Linked DNA regions of Homo sapiens: all the other regions are linked to region 1. The links are contacts of gene promoters, found by promoter capture Hi-C in blood cells and fetal thymus (Javierre and others, 2016). All regions are on one chromosome and are shown on one strand. The core of a region is centred on a gene start or on the middle of the fragment in contact, and the rest is flanking DNA. Distances in the headings are between cores, read along the strand shown. Region 1 holds the start of CCN4 (cellular communication network factor 4). Region 2 overlaps TMEM71 (transmembrane protein 71). Region 3 overlaps PHF20L1 (PHD finger protein 20 like 1). Region 4 overlaps PHF20L1 (PHD finger protein 20 like 1). Region 5 overlaps PHF20L1 (PHD finger protein 20 like 1). Region 6 has its middle 9.9 kb from the start of TG. Region 7 overlaps TG (thyroglobulin).

Evidence for each region. The method cuts DNA at HindIII sites, captures the fragments that hold promoters and counts their contacts. A CHiCAGO score of 5 or more calls a contact.
Region 2: a contact is called between a fragment that was not itself captured here and the fragment with the promoter of CCN4 in region 1, in 1 of 17 cell types (activated CD4 T cells). The highest score is 5.2, in activated CD4 T cells.
Region 3: a contact is called between a fragment that was not itself captured here and the fragment with the promoter of CCN4 in region 1, in 1 of 17 cell types (activated CD4 T cells). The highest score is 5.5, in activated CD4 T cells.
Region 4: a fragment that was not itself captured here is called in contact with the fragment with the promoter of CCN4 in region 1 in 2 of 17 cell types (activated CD4 T cells and M2 macrophages); the score reaches 7.3 in activated CD4 T cells.
Region 5: a contact is called between a fragment that was not itself captured here and the fragment with the promoter of CCN4 in region 1, in 5 of 17 cell types (activated CD4 T cells, M1 macrophages, non-activated CD4 T cells and 2 more). The highest score is 7.6, in activated CD4 T cells.
Region 6: a contact is called between a fragment that was not itself captured here and the fragment with the promoter of CCN4 in region 1, in 13 of 17 cell types (activated CD4 T cells, non-activated CD4 T cells, M2 macrophages and 10 more). The highest score is 12.3, in activated CD4 T cells.
Region 7: a contact is called between a fragment that was not itself captured here and the fragment with the promoter of CCN4 in region 1, in 12 of 17 cell types (activated CD4 T cells, naive B cells, non-activated CD4 T cells and 9 more). The highest score is 11.7, in activated CD4 T cells.

The regions. Positions count from the first base shown.
Region 1 is chr8:133,189,216-133,192,649 of GRCh38, forward strand. CCN4 (cellular communication network factor 4) reads left to right here and starts at 1,824. Exons shown (of 5, transcript NM_003882.4): 1 at 1,824-1,998. The coding sequence starts at 1,930. RefSeq lists a silencer at 2,696-2,943. The HindIII fragment of the contact is 13,274 bases long and covers 1-3,434 here.
Region 2 is chr8:132,729,265-132,732,698 of GRCh38, forward strand. All of the region lies in intron 5 of TMEM71 (transmembrane protein 71), which reads right to left. Among named protein-coding and RNA genes, the nearest start is that of TMEM71, 30 kb to the right of the region's middle. The HindIII fragment of the contact is 831 bases long and covers 1,294-2,124 here.
Region 3 is chr8:132,798,232-132,801,665 of GRCh38, forward strand. It overlaps PHF20L1 (PHD finger protein 20 like 1), which reads left to right. Exons shown (of 21, transcript NM_016018.5): 5 at 541-629; 6 at 864-941. Among named protein-coding and RNA genes, the nearest start is that of PHF20L1, 25 kb to the left of the region's middle. The HindIII fragment of the contact is 1,439 bases long and covers 775-2,213 here.
Region 4 is chr8:132,818,335-132,821,768 of GRCh38, forward strand. The region is part of intron 12 of PHF20L1 (PHD finger protein 20 like 1); the gene reads left to right. Among named protein-coding and RNA genes, the nearest start is that of PHF20L1, 45 kb to the left of the region's middle. The HindIII fragment of the contact is 8,257 bases long and covers 1-3,434 here.
Region 5 is chr8:132,836,683-132,840,116 of GRCh38, forward strand. It overlaps PHF20L1 (PHD finger protein 20 like 1), which reads left to right. Exons shown (of 21, transcript NM_016018.5): 16 at 1-39; 17 at 1,030-1,129; 18 at 2,705-2,900. Among named protein-coding and RNA genes, the nearest start is that of TG, 29 kb to the right of the region's middle. The HindIII fragment of the contact is 4,112 bases long and covers 1-3,434 here.
Region 6 is chr8:132,855,321-132,858,754 of GRCh38, forward strand. No RefSeq gene overlaps it. Among named protein-coding and RNA genes, the nearest start is that of TG, 9.9 kb to the right of the region's middle. The HindIII fragment of the contact is 7,954 bases long and covers 1-3,434 here.
Region 7 is chr8:132,898,534-132,901,967 of GRCh38, forward strand. It overlaps TG (thyroglobulin), which reads left to right. Exons shown (of 48, transcript NM_003235.5): 14 at 265-377; 15 at 1,704-1,806; 16 at 2,820-3,020. Among named protein-coding and RNA genes, the nearest start is that of TG, 33 kb to the left of the region's middle. The HindIII fragment of the contact is 3,394 bases long and covers 1-3,264 here.

The DNA of each region.
Region 1 (3,434 bases), core at 574-3,073:
TTGACTTTTTATTCTCAGCCTCATATACCCAAAATGGCTGCTGCAGCTCCAACCATCACATTTGCACACAAGGAAAGAAAAGAATGAGTAGATGGTCATTCTCTTCCTGAGGAAGGGAATCTTTTCTAGAAGACCCTAGCAGGTTTCCCTTATGTCTCATTGGCCGGAATTGGATCAGAGGCACATCCCCAGGTCAGTAAATGGAGAAATCATGAGCACCATCTCTTCTGGGGTCATGTCTATAGGGATCATAAACCTCTTCCATGAACACAAGCCTGCTGCTACCTCCAAGCAGCCACACATGCTTCAGCATCCCTTGTTAATAAGCTACAGGAAAAGAGAAGAGAAGGAGTAACTGTCATTTAAACCTCAGTGTCGAGTATTCCTACTGAGACCTGGAGATGCTGAGAACTTGCCAAGGTGTGAGAGGAGTTGCAAGGAGGCCATTGTGGTTGGGCATGGTGCACGAAAGGGAGAGAGGAAGAAGTGTACAGGGAGCTGGCTGGCCCAGGGGCCACGCCAGGACTGGGGACTCTGTGCTGTGTGATGGGCAGGCTTTGGACAGTTGTATCCAGAAGATGATCTATACATGACGCTAGTTCAAGGATTGCTCTGAGATGTGTGGATGGTAGAAGGTGGGCAGGGAGGCTGGGTATCAGTCAGGAGGCTGTGGCAGCGGTCCCCATGGGGAGCACAGGGCTGGACTAGGACAGCCCATAGAAGACATCCCATCTCCTTTCTTGCCCAAGGAAGAGACTCAGTGGCAGCAGTGCAATAAGGGTACAGGCCAGGAAACCCAACCCCCCAGGGATAGCAAGCATCCAGAGACACGTGGGGACAGCTCCAGCACCAAACGGCTTCTGACCAATGAGCAGAGACGGCAAACAGCAAATGCGTTACCGTGGCTTTCACGTGTCATGAAGGTGATGCTGTAACCTGAGCCTCAGAGCTCATTTTATTTGTGAATTCCTATCATCTCTAGATGGGTGGACTGAAAGCCACCTCTTTCGCTTGCAGCTAGGTAGAGGGGAGTGCAAGAGGGCAAATGAAAACCAGAAGTAGGGTTGGGCGCAATGCCTCACGCCTGTAATCCCAGCACTTTGGGAGGCTGATGTGGGCGGATTACCTGAGGTCAGGAGTTTGAGACCAGCCTGGCCAACATGGTGAAACCTCGTCTCTACTAAAAATACAAAAATCAGCTGGGTGTGGTGGCACATGCCTGTAATCTCAGCTATTCAGGAGGCTGAGGCAGGAGAATTGCTTGAGCCTGGGAGACAGAGGTTGCAGTGAGCAGAGATCGCGCCACTGCACTCCAGCCTGGCCGACAGAGCGAGACTCTGTCTCAAAAAAAAAAAAAAAAAAAAAAAAAAAGAAAAGAAAAGAAAAAGAAAAAGAAAAGGAAAAAGAAAACCAGAAGTAGGAGCAGCCTGAAGAAATGACAGGGAGTTGATTTCCCACTGGGAGCCCTCTCAAAGCCCACACACCCGCCTGCCTGGGGTAACAGTATCTCCTCGGACATCCTGCACCCTCCCATGCTCCCCCCTCCCTACAGTAGTGAAAGACCTAGGCAGGATGACCCCAGCTCCTCTGTGAGAATTTCACACCCTAGTGTGAAGTCATAGCCTTGTAACTTTCCCTTTAAGAACTGTCAGAGCTGGGGAGGCTGGCCAAGCTCAGGCTGGAGGTGGGGACAGAGGGAAGAAAGAAAAAAAAAAAAGAGAGAGAGGCAGGAAAAGTTTTTTCAGAGGAAAATGCAGGGTTTGTCCTTCACCCTGACGTCAGATCTTGCTTTAATAAAACCCCCCAAGGGCTGCGGAAGAGGCATATCTGGTGCTCCTGATGGGCCGGCCAGTCTGGGCCCAGCTCCCCCGAGAGGTGGTCGGATCCTCTGGGCTGCTCGGTCGATGCCTGTGCCACTGACGTCCAGGCATGAGGTGGTTCCTGCCCTGGACGCTGGCAGCAGTGACAGCAGCAGCCGCCAGCACCGTCCTGGCCACGGTGAGTCCTGCCTGGAGGGGCTCAGAGGGAGACCCAGCTCCCTTCTCTACTGGGTCCTGCTACATGGGGGCTGGTGGGCAGGATGAAAAGGGCCAGGAAGGTTTGGGGCTGGAAGGTGGCCACTTACAGGGCAAGGACAGAGCCCAGGGTGAGGAGTCAGCTGCCCAGGTTGGCTGAAGCTGGCAGGGTGAGGAGGACGGTGCGACACTTGGGGAAACAAACTGCACAGGTCCAGCCTGCCCTCTCTCCCCACCTGAAACAGTGCAGAAAGAACGGGGCCCTCAGCAGAACTGGGAGTCAGGGGCCCGGGCTCCAGACCCGTCTTCGCCTAACCTGGCTGTGTGGCCTCGGGTGGGTCACTCACCCTCCAGGAGCAGCGTAAAGCGACGAAGTTGTTAGGTGACTTCTAGAGTCTCTGAGTTTGAAAACTCCAAGACTCCAAGCATTGGAGATGCTGCGAAGATGGGAGATGGAAAAAGCCAAAAAAAATTGGAAAGAAAAATGCCAGCTTTCAACAAAAGCTCCTTATTGAGCAAACAGTGCTCAGGGTGATGTCTAACCCCAACTGCTGTCACCTCCGGTCTGCACAGCCCTCTGCAGTCTGCAGAGTGTCCATACTTGGGTCCTGCCTATGAAGCCTGCTGTTCCAGGGTGGGGGTGATGTGGGCACCCCAGAGTCTCTCTCTCTTCCACCTGCACCCCAGGGTACACCAAGGGGAAGGGACAAAGGTCTGCACCTCCAAAAGCCAGGGGAGTCACATATGTGACCGTGTAGAGCCAGCCTGCTAGGGCCAGGCATGGTGAGGAAAAGGCAGAGGCAGGCAGTGCAAGGAGGGCAGGAGGTGGGTACCTGGCAGCTTCTGAGCCCCAGATTCCACAGCCCAGGGCAGGACCTGCTCCTGGCAGAACAGCCTAGAGACGGAGGGGTGATGGCAAAAGAGTGTTTATCCCCAAATGACACTGATGGCTTCCTTGGGGGTTAAGAAGCCCCCTTCACAGATAAGGAAACCGTGTGTTGGGGTTAAACCACTTGCCAGAATCAGACTCTAGGTCTGCTTCAGCCAGAACTGAGGCCGAGAGCCGACAGCAAACTGAGACCTGGGAAATAGGAATTCCTCTCAATGCCTCGGTGTGTGTAATGATGGCGGGGAGTGGGTCTGTTTCATCTTGGTTAAATCCTCACGCCTGGCATGGTGCCTGACTATAGTTGGTTCAGAACCACCTTACCAGAAAGTTATCAGCTCCATTTCACAAATGAAAGAAATGGAAAGTGAGAGCAAGTAAAGGACTTGCCCAGGAGCTCCTCATTAATAAGTGGCCAGGGCCCAAACTTAGATCTTCTGATGCCAATTTCTAACCATTCCTACTTAGGGGAAGCTGACTGTGTCCTACAGGAGTGCCCAGAAGGAGCTAAGTCGCTGTTTATTTCGGCTCTG
Region 2 (3,434 bases), core at 459-2,958, 460 kb before region 1:
ATGTGTTAAGAATGCCTTTCAACCACAGGGATAGTTAAGCACCACACCTCTGACTCAACCACTGGAAGTCTCCCATTTGGCTCACCTGGCATAAATGTACCTAGGAATTCTCTTGGTTCTGTCTTGAGTGGTCTGTGTCACATTCCAGGGTTTAACTTTACTCTTATGATCTTGGGTAAGAATTCGTGCCAGTTTAGAGCTCATTGACTTGGAAGCAAAGCCACTCAGAAAGAGTAGCCAGAGTCCTGCTTTGGGATGTAGGTGTTTTCTAAGCTGACATCTAAAAGGGACTGCACATGCCCAACAAATGTACTTTTCTTTATAGCTGAGCTCAAAAGAAGGAAATATTCCCAAAGGCCAAGCCAGGGAAACCTATAACTCTAAGCATACGCTGTGGACAAAGCTGCCAAAAGGGGTGGGGAGAGGGCCTTAGAAGTCATAGTAGTCAAAGGTCTATGGATTAAATGACATTAGGGACAGAAAAAAGGCCTTGGTCTCAAGAGAGGCAGAAAATTAAAACCGAGTTTCTGTAGGGACTCAAAATGCTATTTCCTCAATGAAAGGATGGCTAAGAAAAAAAATCTGCCCACTAGTTCTAGGAGAAGGCATGAAAGCTTATCTGTTTTGGCCTATGTAGTGGGTGGGAGGAAAATGTCTCCGCCAACACTTTATAAGTAAGTGGGTTTTCAGTTAAATTTTTTTTTTTTTTTTGAGACGGAGTTTTGCTCTTGTTGCCCAGGCTGGAGTGCAATGGCGCAAGCTCAGCTCACAGCAACTTCCACCTCCTGGGTTCAGGCGATTCTCCTGCCTCAGCCTCCCGAATAGCTGGGATTACAGGCATGTGCCACCATGCCCAGCTAATTTTGTATTTTTAGTTGAGATAGGGTTTCTCCATGTTGGTCAGACTAGTCTTGAACTCCCGACCTCAGATGATCCACCCACCTCGGCCTCCCAAAGTGCTAGGATTACAGGCATGAGTCACCATGCCTGGCCTTGAGTTAAAATTTATACTAACCTGGGAAATTAATATTTTAAAAAGTCTCAGGCTGGTACTAGCCCTGTGATATCTGCCAGAAGCCAACATAAAAGCTCTCTGTGGAAACACACTCTCAGCCCAAGCTGCACAGATTTCCCCAGATAAAGCCCAAAGGACATGAGCTCACAATCTAAAATTATAAATTATGCAGGGAGATAATCTCCTATGGGTAAGGAGAATAAATATGATGCTTCAGAAAAAGATAATCCTGCAGTGGGAGATGATGGGAGTAGCCAGGATGTTACCGTCTGGCTTTAAGCTTTGAGCAGGAGGCATGATGTTTGGAGAAATTGTCCTAATTTATTTTACCTTGGGGAAACTCTGAAGACCTGTAAAATTTGTGTTTTTTGTTTTTTTGTGGTTATTTTATACCCATAGTATGTCCTTATTTTTGCTTCTTGTCTAAACAGGACAATTACTTCTATGGTCCATCTAAGCCTTGATTTCATGACTAAGGGAAATATGAATATCGACTGGGCAAATATTTGGTAAACTTATGAACTGTAGGACACTTAGGAGGGAAACAAGGGAGAATAAGACACTGTCCCAAAAGAAGTTGAAATCTAGGGTGTGTGTGTACATGTGTGCATGTGTGTGTTTGTGTGTGTGTGCATGTACACATGAGTCAACAGTGGGAGGCAATAAAGAAGGCATCACTTATGGACAGGGGAAACAGACTATCATTTGCTAAAAAGAGATGAAATATGGTTTTGTGGAAATTTCAAGGACTTTGGCATCAGAAAGACTGAAACATACATTCTAATACTAGTAACAGGGCACTTTGCTTAATTTTTCTGATCCTGAGTTTCTTCATGTAAAATAGGATAGTAATGTCTACTTTTTTACAGCTGTGATAAGTGAAGGAGAAGAGACAAAAATGTAAACATACCAACATATAGTTTAGATGGAGAGAATTGAAACTTCTATTGCTAATAGACATTATAATAGATATAGACCCTAGTTACGTGACCAAATGTGATAATCAACTTCATGGGGAGTAGGGGGTGGTAGAAGGGTGCTGATGAGTCATCAAACGATGTTTCAAGGTGGAAGTGATTTTTAAGAATTTATCATTCAATAATAAAAGAAGCTTATTACTTGACCTTGGGGAAGGTAATATTTACTTTGAATTAGATATGCAGGAATTTGCTATACCATGAAGGGACTCCTAAACCTGCTCCAGACATTTCTAGGCACAGGGTTTATCCCATATGGCTGCTTACTTGCCCCGACTTCACCATAGGACAGGGTCCTCTCTAGAAGAAAGTGCCCCAGCAGAGGGTAAAGACTGTAATCTCTGCCCCCTGCCTCATCACAGAGCTGAACAGGCATAGCAAGAGGGCCTCTGGGAAAGACCAACCTGACCTGGTGGGGAATAGCCACAGTTCCTGAGAAGGGTTTAGAGACAGGGACAAAAGAAAAACAGGGAGGAAGAAAGGAAAGAATCAAGAAGGTGATTTTTACCATGTAGTAGGAACTTCAAGGGGAACAAGCAGGGGAATCTGAACAGCCCCAGTTAACAAATAGAAACTTTCTCTGCCTTGATTGCTGTCATGGAATGTCTGGAACATAAAATGACTAAGGAAAGATACGAAACCAGCTGGGAGGAAAGACTGAAGCAGCCCCCAGGTGACATACCCAGAGAAGACCCCCAAGCCAGAGGAATTGGGAGGTGGAGCAAAAGTAAGGCGGGAGGCAAAAGCTGCATGGATACGGGCCAGGCAGATCTATTTATTCATTCAATGCAGTTATTGTATATACTGCAAATGCTGCTCTGGAAGAAGGAAGTCAAATTAGATATTGCTCTGCCTTACTCATGATCTGGAGAGGGACATACATGCAAATGAACAATTAGGATGCAATGAGGTAATTGCTACAACAAAGGCTGGAACAAGTTATCCAGTGGGAATCTAGGAAGGGGTGTCTGAGTCTGTCTGAGGGAAATCCAAGGAGGCTTCACAGAGGAGGCAGCGCTTCAGTGGAAACTGGAAGGATGAGTAACAGTTCTTCCAGAGAGACAGCAGGAAGAGGACAGGCCAGGCAGAGAGGAAGAGAGTAAGTGGGGATGGGGAGAAATTACAATACCTCAATCTATGAGAGACCAGGGTGGGTTCCCAGAAGAGTCCTCCTGTGTAGCTAGACAAGAGCATGTGCATGAGGTCAGTCCCAGGAGATGATTCTGTCTGGGCTGCTAAGCAGAGGTCACATTGTGTGGGGTCTCATGTCACACTCCAAGCTAATATTGATTCTGTGGGTGATTTAGAGTCATTAAAAAAATCTGAGCATGAGTGTAACATGAGTTGCTTTGTGTGTTAAAATGCTCACTCAGCAGTGAGAGATTTGCGAGATTCCCAGTCTCCCATTCTAGGAGCTGAGTGACTATGGGGCTCCAAGAGAC
Region 3 (3,434 bases), core at 244-2,743, 390 kb before region 1:
AAGACTTTTATCTAGATGATTTGTAAAATATTTTCTACCTTTAAAGTCTGGAACTACAATTCTTATTTTCCAGTTTGTTGTTATTGCCCAAGGAATAATCCTTTCCAGGGCAAATGATCTTTTTTGCATATCAGCTCCTTCTCTGTATTACTTCTTTTGAAAGAAACATTCAAAAGCAAATGGTAATGCCTATGGAAATATTATATATTTTTGTAAGTAATGATTTTACTTTTGTCAGCTATGTTGAGTCTAAACATTTAAATTACTGCAAAATAAATTATAAAATTTCTTAGTAAAAATCAGAATTACATGGAACTAACTTATCAAGACTTAATTTGTGTACTTGTTAGGGGAAACAGGAGTTCAGAGTTGTTTTTAGAGGGAGGGAGAAAGTAAACTTGATGGAGTCCTTAACAGGAGCATTTGTAGTTTTTGCATTCCTAAAGCATTTATCTATACAAGTCACTACTTGTTAGATTTCAAGTGTTGCTGTAAACTTGAATTATATTTTCTAATGATTCTGACTTGCTCCTGTTTCAGGAACATTTACAGTTCAGTTTTATGATGGAGTAATTCGTTGTTTAAAAAGAATGCACATTAAAGCCATGCCCGAGGATGCTAAGGGGCAGGTAAGAGTGTTCAGTATTCCTAGCTACCCAAAGGGTTATCTTCTTGAACGGTGACTGATCAAAATATATTTATATGTATATTTTTTAAAAATGAACTAATTGTAGGGTTATGTGCTGATAGCCCCAAATAGCAGCAAGAAAAGGAAGCTTAGACTGTAAAATAAATTATACATTTGATTTTTGCTTCTTTGGTTTAGACCTGCTAAAGTTATAGGTCACTAGTTTCTGTTCCAGGTGAAATCCCAGCATCCACTAAGCTGGTGTTGTCCTATCGACCCAGCTGGATCGTGTAACCAGTCTATGGGAAGTGAGGTAAGAGCCTTTTTTTTAAAAATTTTGTTTTGTTTTTCCTGGTATATAATGTCATTTAGAAAGTTAAAAATTTTTAATATAAAAATTTACATTGAGTTCTTATCTTCTTCTTTCCTTCTACAAATCATAGTCATTCATCTTCCTTTAAAAGGCGCTTACCTGACACTCTGTAGGCTGTTTCAGATAGGGCTCTCTGAGTCATGTGATGGAAGCAGTGTATTGTATGCTTTGTCACTGCTCAAAGCAAGAATGGATGGTAAGCATTGGAAGGAGAATCTTGGGTGGAGGTAAAAACCACAATTCCATTTGTTGGCTATGTTTTCTGAAATACTGGAAAGAAAGGTGCCATTAGAAATTTAAAATATTTTCTTTTCTATTCTGCTGTTATTTGGGATTTTCAGCACCTGGACCTACAATTAATTTTAAGAAATTGAAAGTAGTGTGTAAAAATGTCTAATATGGAAATATGCTACGTATTTGTTCCATACCATGCGGTGAAAACTGTCATTCTGAAATGTATTGAAATTACCTGGTCAGCTTCAGTCAAGTGTAAACATTTAGTGCTCTAGAAATGTATATCTACCACATTAAAAAAATTATTCATGAAGAAATAAGTGTGATTGTTTTAAATTGCCTGGTTTTCAAAAATTTAGTTATGAAATGATTAGCAAGCAGATTTCTTCTAATTAATATGTAAATGCAATTTAAAATGAAAATGCTTTTGATCAGGAAGTGGCTTTGTGTCTTCCCACATGTATGTATAAATAAAGTGTTCTTTTAAGCATTCAGTGGTGTGATTTCTTGGTTACTACATAGATTGATTAAAAGGTTGGGAACATTGTATATACCTGCTTAAGCAAAAGTCTCAATTTTTTTTTTTTTTTTTGCTTTAAAACAATTATTTTGTTATTCTGGTTGATCAGATGTTCATGAATTGACATTATATTATTGCCTTAAAACTTTGTTTTTTCAAAGTGGGACACTGAGCCAATTTGGTTTGTGGTAAAATTACAGCTTGTAAAAATTAAATTTATTGGATGTTATGGATGTTTGTTTTTAATAAGTAGTGATTCTTTAGTCACACTATGATGCATTATAACATTAAGATCAGTGCCAAGATATAAAACAACTGAAATAATATTTGGGTAGTAGTATATTTCTTTTAATTTTTCATTTTTTTCTTTATAATTCTTAATCACAGCAACGTTAACAATATTTGTAGAATTGTGTTTTATAAATGACTCTCATTTTATGAGTTGCTTTTTCCCAACAAGCTTTTGACTTGCCTTCATCAAAGAAATATGCCAAATCAGTTGTTATTTGGGCAAAGCTAAGGGGGGCCTATCTTGTATAATATCTTCTAAATTTTGAGTACTTTGAGAATTTGTTTAGAAAGATAATTTTTAAATTAAGCTAGCAAAGAGTAGTGCAACAAATTAATGCACTGTGGAAATGCTCTTCCTGAACCTGTCTAAAATGTGACATTAGTAACACTTTTGTATATGCAAACCTCCGAAGTAATTAATATTCTTAAGCCTAAATAAGTCTTAATTCTGTTGTTTTTGACTTTGAACCCGTTGGTTAATACTGGATAAACTTCTGCTTGCATTAAGAGTTTAGCTTGAGCACCTTAAAGAGCTTTTAATATTACAGTGGGTGCAATGTGAGCTGTAGTCCTTCTAACACTGTATTTGTAGACATTTTTCTCACTGGGAAAGAAGGTAATGGTAGACATGTTATCAGCCCAAAATAAGATCCCCTCTTTTTCTCCCTACCTACAGTTTTTTCTTCTTCCACATAATTTTGTGTGGAATGGTAGTGTTGATACATAAATAGCTATGAAACTGACATATATTATAGGAGGGGGATTGATTCCTTCATTTTATGAGATACCTCCTTGTTCCTTCTGGTTTTCTACCCTAATAAGAGCAGTAGTAATTACAGGGTGAGAGATTGAGCCATTATATTTTTAATTTGGAAGCTTGTAACAGAAGTACTTGCCTTTTCTCTCATTTCTTCTTCCTGAGGGCGTGCTGATACAAAATATACGTTGTGACTCACTAGTGTTAATGGTTGGCTTATAGGTCCTTTGCTATTAATATTTACAAAACATTTTTTGTGTGCCTTGTTTCGTTGGATTCTCATAGTAGATCCTTTGACATAGGTATGGCTAATATTTCTGTTTCACATTTGAAGAATTCAGAACTTAGAGAATCCAGTGACTTAAAATTTTACTCATTCTGTGCGAAGTGATTCCTTTAACCCAAAGTTTCTGATTTCAAACACAGTGCCCTTTTTAATGCAATATTCTATTATGTTATCTACAAAGAGCTCGAAAACATCATTATTAGTTATAGTTCATGGAAAGATCACACTTCAGTTATTTTTAACAATGAAGCTTTTCTATAGAAGGAATAAATTCAGTGTTTGATAGCAGAGTAGAGTGACTATAGTTATTAAAAATGTGTTATATTTGAGTGATGGACACCCTAA
Region 4 (3,434 bases), core at 386-2,885, 370 kb before region 1:
TTGGAGAAAAACATAAGGCAGTTTGTTGATTCGTTACCAAGGGTGTTGGTGATCATTGTGTTTACAGGCGTCTTCCCTGAAACCATTTTATCCATTTTTTGGATGAAGCATAAAATGAAACTTATTCTTTTCTGGTGATGGCATGTATTGAAATAAAATGATTGAAGTAACATAAGAGACATATACTTATTTTTATTAATTTTTATCTTTATATAAAGGTTGAAGTTACTTTGTACATGATAATTCTTTATCATGTTTAAAAAAATAAAACAATACCCAAATGTGAATATTTGTAGATTTTGAAACATTTCCTGTAGTTTCTCAAATCAGATCTATTGTCTTTTGACTCTTGGTCTTTCCTTAAGATAATTAATTTTTCTTTTCCACTTTTCCACAAGATTTCCAAATTGTCATTGACCCATTGAGATACTTTTTTGATAAAGGTCTTATTCGGTTCTTTAACGATCTGGAATTTGTTACCGTACTGAATATATGAAAAATATGTTAAAGTTATAAGGTTGTATATACATTGGGAAAATTATTTTCAAATGTACATGTGAAAATATTTACATTTTTCTTTAAAAGTATTCTAATATTTGTAACAATATTGAAATATAGGCCAATATAAGTAACTGTGTAATAACTAAGAGTCTTACATTAACAGATTATATATCATAAAATATCAATGTAGTGATTGTGCATGGAAGTCCTTGACTTCGATGATTTTGCTTCTAACCAGATTATTAACTTCCTCTTTTCAGAATTTCTAGCATATTTGTGGCAATGTGGCTGACTACCTTAGAGGAAGGCACACGAATATTCTTTCCCTTTTTAAATATTAGCAGTAACTATTGGAAAAGTAAAATAAGTAAGATCGTTTTCTGGGAAAGTAAAAGGTAGAGAGGAGTTTAGCTATAATTTGAATTTGTGGAAGAGTAAGGATTATCTGGATATGATGAGCTTAATAGTACAGTAGCTGTCAACTTTAATTGATTATAGCAAGGAAATGCATAGTTTTAATTGTTAATTACTGAAGATTTATTAGAGGGTTGAACACAGTATTTGAATAGAGGGAGGTGAAATTCTCATTTGTTTCTGTGACCTCTTAATTTTTAGTTTTTGAGGAAAGTAGTGCAATTTAGGTCATGTTCTGACTGAACACCTTTTGATTACAACCTTGTGTGCCTGTCCCACGTGCATTGAAATTCTCGGTGGTCTCTATGCTTTTCTCCTTAACCTTTTTGTTATTCACCCTCTCTTGACTATTTTGCAGTATTTGTTATGCTTCTGTCTGTTCCCCAAGTCCTTTTACATCTAGAGCCAAAGTGCCAGGTTTTTATGTTTTTATTTCTCTGATACATATGTACATATATGCACATACTCATACACACATGTATGTTTTGTTGGTGTCCATATTATAAAAGTAAATTTTCTTACTGTTGAATTTTAAAACTGATAATTGAAAACATTCTTTACAGTTCGTCAGAGACATTTTCTGAGTTATTTTTGTCAAATTGAAACTCTTGGGGAGTTTAGAATGATGAGGGTGTTAGTTGCTAACTGTGAAATTGTTCAACATGGTTAGGTTTTTACTTTTGGGGGAGCAAGATAAATTCACACTGTTGAGTTTAGCATTTGATGCTGAAGGATTGATGAGATTTGCAGATAGTCCAATTATTATATACAACTTTTCTTAATTGTTTTCCAATAGAGATAATGAACTTGCAATAATCTCTCGTATGTTCTTCTGCTGGGGTGGATGCCCACATGTCTAGCCACTGTTAAGAATGCTATTGCTGCCTACATTACCAAACAAGTAATTGGTATCTTTGTAAAAATTGATGCCTTTGTTTTTATTTTACTATCAGGATGCTTTGTCACAGAGCCAGCCAATTTTAGATAAGGATACAGCCTCAGAAAATCTTAATTCTGTTAGTATCTGGGAGGATAGAGTAAATCAAGTTTTTTGAAAAGGGGTCTTTTGAAAAATACTCTTGGTTCAGGTTCTCACAGGCACCTTGGGCCAACAGTTATCTATTGCCCCTTGTCAACACAATTCTCTTTAGGTGGGAAGCACAGTGTGAACAGATGTGGAATCTGCCTTCTGGAAACTTAGAGTCTAGAAGGGACACAAAGCTAATAACTGAAATACAAATATTTAAAGCAAGATTAAGTGCCTGAATAGGTGTAAAGTACTCTTGGGTGTAAAGGAACAAAAGATTGCCCCAAGAGGCCTCTGGTAGAGCCTCTTAAAAACTCTGGAGAGACAAACCATCTGCCTTCTCTTCCTGCTTCCTTGAAACTCAGTTTTTCATCTATATGATGAGATTATAGTAGATGATGTCTGTGGTCACTTTTGGCTCTACAATGTTGATGTTTTACTTATCATTAATCAGGCATTTGATAGAGTCTATGTTTATTCCAAAAAAAGATTATGATGTAGGATTATTTTTGCTTAAAAACGTCAATTAAGATAGCCTTAGAGATGATAACTTATTGTTTGTAACCACTGTGAAGACAAAATTGGCATTAGTAGGTTGTATGCATATAATTTTGAGCCATTTTAAAAAGTTATTCTTGTATTAAAAGAAATACCTTTAGTAACCCATCTTCATTTTTTTTTTATTTTTTAGCAAATTAGTAAATAAGTTTCAAGGAGCATTTTCCTGTTTTATTGCAGCATGTCTTAGTTAGCATGGATAGGAATGTTGGCTTGACGTGGCCATGCAGAGTGTACCTTTATGTAACGTCAGGATGTCCATGAGCAGGTCCCCTGAGTTTTCGGGTAGCATTCGATGAAATGCATCAGGCTTTGCTTCAGTGTCATTCAAAGTCATCTTAGTTTTTGAATGAAATGTAGATGCAAGTAAATGTATTTACTTATTACATAGATACTTACATAGATACTATGATACTATCATAGATGAGATAGTTGGACTCTTCTTAGTGAATATTCTGTAGAGTGTTCATGAATTATATTATCGATTGGTTAATATAATCCATTTTATCACCAGTGAAAAACAGAAGTAGGTCATGGGGTTGGTCTAAGTATGGCAAAAAAGCATCTTGTCAGTTCTACCTCATCTGCCTGTGGTGGGTTTTGAAATGGCCTTCATTTTTATTCCAACATCTCACATCAACTTTACATTTACTATTTAAAAGTCTTTTTGTTTTAAATTGTTTTTCAGTTTATTTTCCAGATTCGTTCAAAACAAAACTACAGCTGGAGACTCTGTTGCCTCCACCCTCATACCAAATGTTCATGGCTTCTACAGAGCCTGGGGTTTCTATGGAGAGTCTCAGGGATTGCCTCTCTTTTTAGTCAGAAGAATCTGTAATGTTTAGCATACCAGAAGAGGCTTGAGAAATCACTCTACATTACTAGTTTTTTGAGTTGTGTGCAGGCAGGCATGGTTCAGAGATCTGCCTCTCTG
Region 5 (3,434 bases), core at 483-2,982, 350 kb before region 1:
ATTTGTGAGATGGATGAGGAGAATGGCTTCATGATCCAGGTAATTGGTTAACCTCTCTTCCCTATAATGAGTTAGTTGTTTCAGGTGCTCAGCAAATGCATCACGGTGTTTTATTTCTTTACTGACTGTACTACTGAAGATAGTGGTTTCTAACTTACTGTGTGGAAAATACCCATAGTAATGATTAGGAGATTTCCTCATTAAGTAAAGTAGACAATGTTCTTATTTTAGCATCTCTCTTCCTTTTCTAGGGTATGTAGTTCAGTGCCTTCAAACTGAAACTCTTTAGAGTGATTAGGGTGGTAAACCCTCACACGAAAGGGCAGGCTACAGCAACCTTTCTCTTCCTCATCTGCATTCATGTGAATTATTATAATAATAATTTATAGTCACCCTTCACTTGTCAGTGATTAAAACATAAAAATGTCCAGTATTCTTAAAGGAAAAATTTTGTTGCAGGAGTTAACAACTTCTTCTTGTAGGAAAGATATCTTTAAGATAAAAGGAAAGCATAACCCAAATTTTGTGATGCCAGAAGATTTGGAGATGTTAGTTGAGAGCATGAAGAAAGAGTAATCTTTTTTCCTCCCATTTTTCTGTGGTTTTATGGAGGGAACTATGAATTTATAACTTCACCACAGAAGTAGTACTTTAAGAGATCATTGGTATAGACACTGCTACCAACTTTTTTTTCCCCTAATTTCCGCATTTTAATAAACTATTTTAAGAGTTTTATGATATGATTGCCTAAATATCAGTGAGAATTAAATTAGAGAAATTATGACTTAAGTACTTGATCAAAGCATATTCTAATAGGTGCAACAAAAGAAAGTTCGTGAAGTAGTTGACCATTTCAAAGATAAAATTCATCTTAAGTCATGGCTTGATTTTGTTGTGTCAAATAAGTATGAAACTGATAGTGGCAGTAAGAAGCCAAGCCAGCCAATTCAAAGAAAGGGCATGTATCCTTATTCCTAGCTTATTCCTAGTGAGGATCGGGTGACTGTAATACTCCTCTGTTTTCTGCAGTGTGAAGAGTGCTTGTGTTGGCAACACAGCGTGTGCATGGGGCTGCTGGAGGAGAGCATTCCAGAGCAGTACATCTGCTATATCTGCCGGGACCCACCAGGTAAGGCTTTCTGTGCCGTGCTGATTGCCAGGATGCCTCTATGTCTCCTCCAGGATTCCAGAGTGTATCAGCTGTGTTCACCACCACTACAGCAAGTTCTCACATGATGTCATTGATAGGTTCTTGGAAACTGTGACTCCAAATGAAACAGCATGCTATATGCCATAGGAACTTAACTTGTATGTATCAATTAGCTTATAGTACAATTCATTTCATTATTCAGTGTGCCAGTTTCCAAGAACCTATTGATTACCCTTAGTGAGGACTCACTGTACTTCTTGGTCAATTAGACTCAACTTCCGTATTAAAATTTTAAAATATTTTTTCACTGTTACATTTTTATTTTCCACATTGATTACTTAGACAAATACATTAGCATATATTTATCAACAAAATTACTATCCTACTGGAAGGGAAGAGGTGTGACTTTTTCCTGGAGAAGAATTAATTAGCCTCTGTTCCTCTGTATCCATTTCTAGCTAGGCTTATTTGTGGCAATCGGAGTAGATCTGCATTATGAACTTGCATGCTACTGACCTGGCAGTTCTGCATATTCGACTCATTGTAGAGCAGGTGGGGTCTTAGAACACTACCTGTGATGCCTTTATTTTACTGATGAGGCAGACTGAGATGAAATCTATGCCTTTTGACTCTCAATCCACCATGCTGTCTACTTGGTGCCTTCTTCTATGCTAGAGGATCTTCAGATAGCATATTCTGCATATTGAATTTAACTTCAGCCTCCAGGCAGGAAATAACTAGGTTTTCTCAAATAATAGGCATGTGGTGAATTGGTCCCATGACTATTGGAAAAAAAGAAAAAAGTCACAATAAGTCACAAAAAAGTCACAGTAAGAAGCAAGAGAATTAATTATTCACAGCCATATGAATGTAGACATTTGTTCATTCACCAACATTTATAGTGTTCATTATTCATTGTATTTATTCAATAACAAATGTAGACATTTGTTATTTATTCAGAAGCATTTACTGGATGGCTTCTATTTGCCACTGTGGTGAGATGATTGATTTAAACCATGCCTTCAACTGGCTAGTAGTATAGTATGGGACACAGGCAATAAACACCTGGTTGTAATAGGATCTAATTTATATTAACATGAAGGATATGGAATTTCATAGGATTCTGTGAAATCACAGACATGGGGGAAGGGTTCCTATTCACTCAGCTAGAACTCTATGGTTCATCCAGTTCAAAACAAAGGTTAGTGAGAGAAATAACCCCTGTCTAGTTTTTATCCAGCCCTTTGAGCCTTTTTAGAGGACAGATGATGACTACAAAACATTGAAAGCAGTACACTCAAGGTTCCCTTTGCAAGTGTCATCTGCCACTGACCATGTCCTTAATGGTGTTTCTTCTCCTGGGTGGGCAGGAACGCTGAAGGTGTGGAGGAGCTCTTCCTGCACCAGTTCCTCAGAACGCTGTCTTACTCTTTTTGAATCTGCTCCTAGTGCTAGAGCTTGCCTTGCTTAATGAGCAACGTTAGTAGGTTAGCAGTTGATGAAAAATCCGAGTAAGTGCAGTCCTCTGTGATTTAATATCAACTTCATCTGCAGGTCAGAGGTGGAGTGCAAAATATCGTTATGATAAGGAGTGGTTGAATAATGGGAGAATGTGCGGGTTATCATTTTTCAAAGAAAATTATTCTCATCTCAATGCCAAAAAGATAGTTTCTACACATCACCTGCTTGCTGATGTCTATGGTGTTACAGAAGTGCTACACGGGCTACAGCTGAAGATTGGAATACTAAAGTAAGTGAAGGGCAGCAAAGGGAGGGTCACACTTCAGTGGACGTTTTAATTCAAACCAACACTGTTGGCCTTTTGATGGTCCAGAGTAACAGTTTGGAGGAGAGAACAGGTATTTGAATAAAGTTTCATTTTTAAAAATAAGGAAAGATTAACAACCTTTTGGATGCGTTGGTGCTTCCTGTCTATTCTAGAATGTGTAAGTGTGGTTAAAGGTAGATACGGCATCTAGTATTTCAACACATTTTAGCTCCTGTCCCACTGTTTTGTATGCTTACCGTATGTGCAAAATTAAGTGCAGTTGCTGTGGTGAACCCTATACGTTGTGTCCTCCTTCAGGAATGCTATCAAATGAAATAGATTCTAAGCAGGGTGAGTATTTTTTTTTATAAAGATTGATTTAAAGGTGATGAAGGGAGCCTACAAACCGAATTCACTTCTCTGCTGTGCACCAAATATGTTAGTCATCCCATACAATTTTCTCTTAAACAAGTCTTTAAAGAACGTATCAGAATATTCTTGAAGTCCTTATTTCCA
Region 6 (3,434 bases), core at 544-3,043, 330 kb before region 1:
GTCCCTTAAAATTCTTTTAATTTATGGTTAGTCTGTAGTCATGTCTCTTATTCTTGATTTTATGATTGGCTGCTTGTCTCTCCCTCCCTCTCTCCCACCTTCCTTCCTTCCTTTCTCTTCTTCCCCTCACCCCAAATCCTCAGTCTACTTAGAAGTTTGTCAATTTTGTTACCCTTTCAAGAAGTTGTTGCTTTATTTTAGTTTTTCTGTTGCGTTTTATATTATGTTTTATTAATTTCTGCTCTTGAATTTCCTTTCTTTCTTCCCTTTATTTTTTTCCCTCCTTTAGCTTCTTGAGGTAAAAACTATGATTATTGATTTTAGATCTTTCTTCTTTTGAATCTAGGCATTTAAAGCTGTAAATTTCCCTCTAGGCACTGACTTAATTGCATATCATACTTTTTGACATGTTGTACTTTCTATTTTCATTCAGTTAGAGATATTTTCTAAGTGAAAATATATCTATTTTCTAAGTTTTTCTAAGTATTTTCTAAATTTATCTTGTGATTTCTTATTGACCATGGATTATTTAGAAATGTTTAATTTCCTAGCACATGGGTATTTCTCATATTTCTTCTGTTGATTGTTTCTAATTTTATTCCAATATTGTTGGAGAATATTCTTATATAATTTTAGTCCTTTTCAATTTATTAAGTCTTGTTTAATGCCTAGCATATTAAATGTGCACTTGAAAAGAATGTGTATTATGCTATTGTTATGTGAAGTGTTCTATACGTATCAGGTCAACTTGGTTAAGAGTTTAGCTCAGGTCTGCTATATCTTCACTGATTTCTCTCTAGTTGGTATATCAACTATTAAGAAAGAGATATTGAAATTATCAGCTAAAATGATTGAGTTGTCTATTTGTCTTTTCAATTAAATCAATTTTTATATTGTGCTTTTTGGGTCTTTCTTGTTGTAGTTTGTGTGTGTGTGTGTGTGTGTGTGTGTATTTACAATTTTTTATATCCTGGCATATTAACCTTTTCATTGTTATTAAATATGACTTTTTGTGTCTAGTAGTACTCCTTGTCTTAAAATCTGTTCTGTCTGATATTGATGTACCCAAGAGCAATGAAAACATGTCTACATAAAAACTTATTTACAAATGTTCATAGCAATATTATTCATAATGGCCAAAAAGCAGAAACAACATAAATGTGCACCAATTGATAAATGGATCAATAAAATCTAGTGTATCTACATAATGGAATATTATTCAGCAATAAAAACAAATGAATTACTGATACATGCTACAACACATCTATAACATAGATGAACATTGAAACCCTCATACTAAGTGAATGAAGCCAATCACAAAAGACCACATATTGTATGATTCAATTTATATGAATTTTCCAGAACAGAAAAATCTATAGAGACAGAAACTGGATTGATTGGTGGTTACCTAGGGCTGTGGCGGGGTGGGGAATGGGGAAATTGGAGGATGATGGCTAAAGGGTGGGGGATTCTTTTGAGAATAACATTCTAAAATTTATAGTGATGGATGCAAAGTTATGTAAAGGTACCAAAAGCTGTTTAATAGCTGTACCAACAGCTATTAAATTGTTGAATACACTTTAAATAGGCAAATTGTATGGTATGTGAGTTATCTCACCAAAGTCTTTTAAAAATTTTTTTTAAAGAACACATATACATCAAATTGTTGATTATGATGAAACCAAGGAGATGTTACAGCCAAATAAAATGTTAAATCCTGGACTGGACCCTGGAACAGAAAGAGGAACATTAGTGCAATAATTGGTGAAATTCTATTACAGTATTCAGTTTAGTTAATAGTATTATTCTGATGTGATGTTAACATTAAGTGAAATTGATTAAGGGGTATATAGAAACTTTGTACTACTACTGCGACTTTGGGTAAGTCTGTAATTATTTCAAAATGAAAAGTTAAAGAAAAACTATATGAGACAAGAGTGAAAATGCAACCTATGGATTGTAGTTCAGAATGCACCAATAGTGGTTAATTGTAACAAATACACCACACTGATATAAAATGTGAACAGTAGGGAGAACTGCATGGGGAAGGAGGGTATATGGGAACTCTGTACTATCTGCTCAATTTTCTGTAAATCTAAAACTGTAAAGTCTATTAATTTAAAAAAATTAAAAACTTCAAATTTCTTTCTATTTCTGAAAAAGGAATATGAAAGGATAATTTTAATATGCTATCTTTTTAGTTTGAGAAAGAAAAAAATTCAGTGAAATTATTACAAACCCACAGGCAATTTAAAGTTAATCCTTGCAATACACTGTCTCTAGGAATCAGGCTGGCTCAGTGAATCAAGGAGGAAATGCAGTCATGAGAAAAAGAAGCCGTGAAAGAATGAAAATGAAATGAAGGAAGATAGAAGAGAGTGTTGCTTTGGAGAAACTGTGCAATCTGTGAAGGCAGACTGGTCAGATTTAAATATAAAATAGGGCTTTGAAGGCCTGGGTAGGCTGATACAAGTGGGAAGTGGAGATGCACAGGGAATTCAATTGCTCTGAAAGTAGACACTAGAGAAAGCAGAAACATCTTAATTTTCGCAAATCAAAACAAACTTGGAAATTTTGGACCACACTGCACTCAGATCTTGGAAGATCTTGGCTCTTTTGTTGGATTTCTTCAAGGAGAGAACTAGGATCAACCAACAGTTGAGAAGTTCCATCTTAAAACAACAAATAGCTCAGTAAGTGGGAACCATCCCATGAAGAATGGGCTACTATATGGGATGCTTACAGAAAACCTAGACATATGTAATAAGATTGGACCAAATATACAGAGTACTCAAAGTAGTTTTAGTGAGTTTCAAGGTGAGGCAGCCATCTTCATGCAGAGGTGGAGATACAGATGCTATTTATGACCCAAGGAAACATGCCCGAAAAATTTACAGAATGATGGCTCTAAAGTGAGGCACACTAATATGAGAGCCATTGAAGGGGCCAGGCAAAACAGGATAGTGTACATGTCTGAACTGTTGGTCACATGGCAGAATGACTTGACGGAGACACTTGAGGAAGTGGCAGCGGACAAGATAGGTCTGAATAACTGATGCTTTGGGCAGTCCCAGAGTATATTGATTTTATCTCCTCAGATCTGAGAGAAACAAGTGGACAAAATCTAGTGGCATATGTTTAAAACTATTTCTAGAAAGAACAGAACAAAAAGAAGGGCTCAAATCCAGCAAACCATCCCAGCCCAAAATGAATCAGAGAAGAAAGGAGAGTGACTTAAGCTAGTTAACCTATTGGAAAATAGGCTGGGCCTTTCAGAAAGCGAAAGGGAGAACCACAGTGGAAAACAAAATGCCAATGCTGTATTTCTCTAGAGCAGAAAACAGTGTAGTAAAACAACTACTACTCAAGACACAGAACAGTTGAAAATAAAGAAAAGCAGTGTTTTCGGGAGCAATGGGCTTCTAATCATTACC
Region 7 (3,434 bases), core at 318-2,817, 290 kb before region 1:
CTGTAGTTTCAGCAACCGCCTCGCCTCTGAACCTGCAGCCCCAACCCCTCTTCTGAGGCTCAGCCATGTGTAATCCACAGTCCACTTGACATCTCAAAGCTGGCATGTCCCACATGAGTCTTTGTCCTCAGAGATTCTACCTCTCTATGAAGAGCACCTGCATTCACCCAGGCTCATGACCCTTAAAGGTGGGGTCAGCCTGGGATCCCCTCTTTCTCTTGGCTCCCACGACCAGTCCTTTACAAGCACCTCTCTCTCCCACAGGCCCGACAACCTGCGAGAAATCTCGAACCAGTGGGCTGCTTTCCAGTTGGAAACAGGCTAGATCCCAAGAAAACCCATCTCCAAAAGACCTGTTCGTCCCAGCCTGCCTAGAAGTAAGGGTCTGGAAGCACAGGATTGGAGCCGGGACTTGTCCCCGCTGGTCAGAGATGATTTTTCTTTTTGTTCAATACGTTCAGCTTAGTTAAAAGCTCACATGATGTTCTCAGCCTGGGTGTTTGTCTGGGCCTGCTAGAACCTGGTTCTGTGACCTTGGGCTATTTACTTACCTTTTCTGTGTCCCAGTTTGTTTTGTTTAATCATAAGATCAGGCCACATTTTGTCCTAGCTAATGCTAGGTTTGTTTTGAGACTCCAAGAAAATATCTTTCATAAGAACTCTTTGAAAAATAAACAAAACATGCTATCATGTTTTTCCTAAAGGCATCTTGGCCAAGGCCCTATGCTTACAGTGTCCCAGGTTCTCAACACACACAGAGGACACCAGCTTCTTTCCCTCCCTAGCTCCCGGGGTGATTGTAACAATTCATAATTCAGCGAAGTACTGATGTAGAGCTCCTAGAGAACGAATTTATGCCCAGAACTTAACCACTTACTTGCCAAGTGAGGGAAATCTCTGGGCTTAGTGTCCTTTTTCTAAAATAGGATGGTAGGAACACCACCACCCACTCTGCTCAGCTTCCAAAGACTTGATGAGAAGCAGATGAAACAGCAGTGTTGAAACTCATGAAACTGTACAGTACTAAGCAAAAGTTTCCTTATTATTGTTTGGTACTGTAAACATGGACCCACTTAAGCATAGTTTCATAGAGAAATTAGTCACTATTGTTTAGTTTTTTAATCTTGGCTGGAAAGCACCTACTGTTGGAATGCAATTCTGCTTCTCCTTCCTGGGCACTGATGCTTACACAGAGAGAAGGAGAGGTAGAAGCCACAATGTCCGATGGTGGGAGAAGGGATTACAGAGTGGAGCTTAGAGGCGCTCTGAGGTGTGGTTTGCAAGGCCAGTTCCTGTGGAGGACTCTAGTACTTGTCAAAATCATTTCTGGAATTAGTGAGGCTGGTCCAGGAGCATGGCTAGGCTTTGGGTCTAGATGGGTTTGGGCCTGGACCTGACCTGCCTCTCACTCACCAGCTGTGAGTTGTTGCCCCACTTTCCCTCTCTGAGAGATCTTCAGTTTCACCCACCCAAAAGCGGGAGAACTGTGGTCCATGCCTCATGAGGCTGTTGTAGCCGTCAATCAAATGATGCACGTAAAGGGCTGGGAACAGGAGAGCACCTCTCCCCACCTCCACATCTCTCCGTCTGGAGAAGCCATCACCTGTTGTTTTGGAAGGGACACTTTTGACATCTGCCAGCAGCAGGTTGGCCACTAGAGCATCTTGCCCACAGTGACTGACATGACCCCGGCTTTGTCTCAGACAGGAGAGTATGCCAGGCTGCAGGCATCGGGGGCTGGCACCTGGTGTGTGGACCCTGCATCAGGAGAAGAGTTGCGGCCTGGCTCGAGCAGCAGTGCCCAGTGTGAGTAGCAGCCCCTCCTGGCATGGCTTCTCACCTCTTCTGTGGGGCACTGAGCGTGGAGTCCAAAGAGCTGGCTTCGTGTCCCAGCTCTACTGCTTCCATAGCTGTGGGGGCACAGCTGCTGACCTCACTATGCCTCAGTTTTCTCATCTATGAAATCGGGGCAATATTCCCCCATCTCTGCAGTTTCTTGGGAGAAGCAAACGTGGGAGGGAGTAGGCTGTGCTTTGTGTCTGAGAAGTGCAAACCAGCATTGATCCCCATCAAAGGGGGCCCTAGGGCTTTGGAGGGCTGGCCGGATGTGTGGCCCTGCCGTCTGGTTTCCGCAGTGAAGCCCAGGTGATGTCCCCAAAGGGCAATGTGCAGATGTCCCTCTTCTGCCTAAACACCATAAATGCTCCCATCATCTTCGGGGCCGTGCTTGAGCTCCCTGGAATGGCTCGAGGGCCCTTTGCATCTGGTGCTGGTGTGTCTTCTTCGACTTCTCTTTCTTCTCCATCAGTTGTGCTTCAGGGTGCAGTTGTGATAAATTCTGGTCAGACTTTGGAAAAAGGAAGACGCTTTCTTCCACCTGTGCCTTCACGCGTTCTGGCTGTGCCACCTGCAATATGTCCGTCTATCCCCTCCCCACCTGACAAATTCTTGCTCAGACCACACATCTGTCCCTCCAGGAAGCCTCTGCTGGCCTCTCTCTTCCTCTGTAGGCTCCTACACTGCACTATTGTTGCCTTTATTTCACAGAACTGTACCTGCTCACGTACTTGTTAACTCTCCTTTAAGACTCTAAGCTGCTTGAGGGCAGGCAGTGGAGGGGAGAGAGTACAGAGCTGAGCCAGGTCCAGTGTTTGCCTTGTTGTCATTCAACCTCCTGGTGGGGAGGCAGCCCCAGACCCCTGGAAGGCCCTGCAGGCAGGTGGGCTGAGGGTGGCCGTGGGTGGTGAGGAGGGTGATTGGGCATCTGAGCAGGGAGTGGGCACTGATTCCCCAGCCCATCTGGCTTGTCTCTGTGTCAGGCCCAAGCCTCTGCAATGTGCTCAAGAGTGGAGTCCTCTCCAGGAGAGTCAGCCCAGGCTATGTCCCAGCCTGCAGGGCAGAGGATGGGGGCTTTTCCCCAGTGCAATGTGACCAGGCCCAGGGCAGCTGCTGGTGTGTCATGGACAGCGGAGAAGAGGTGCCTGGGACGCGCGTGACCGGGGGCCAGCCCGCCTGTGAGAGTAAGTCATGACCCCCTGGGGGGACGACGAGGCCTGCATATCTGTTCTTTGATCCAGACTGGGTGAAGTACTAGAGAAGCTGGGAAGGCAGGGGTGGGAGGGGAGGCAGGAAGTGCAGGAGGGATGTAGTTGTGGTTGAGTCCCTTCGTGTGAAAACTTACATCTACTTCCTGAAGACGCTCCTGCTGGGAACTGAAGTCAGAAAGAGCCTGGGCAGGGAACCCCCAGAACTGACACCTTAAGAAGCTTGGGGGCTGTCCTGCCCGGGAGTTTTGGGTCTTATTCTCTGTGTCTTCAGATGGGGAGAAGGACCGTGGTTGCAGGATCTCAGTGTGATGGTTCCATCCTCACTGAGGCACTTCAGGAATTTGTGGAGGTGTTGACTTGTTTATTTTTATTTCAAGTTTTAAAAAT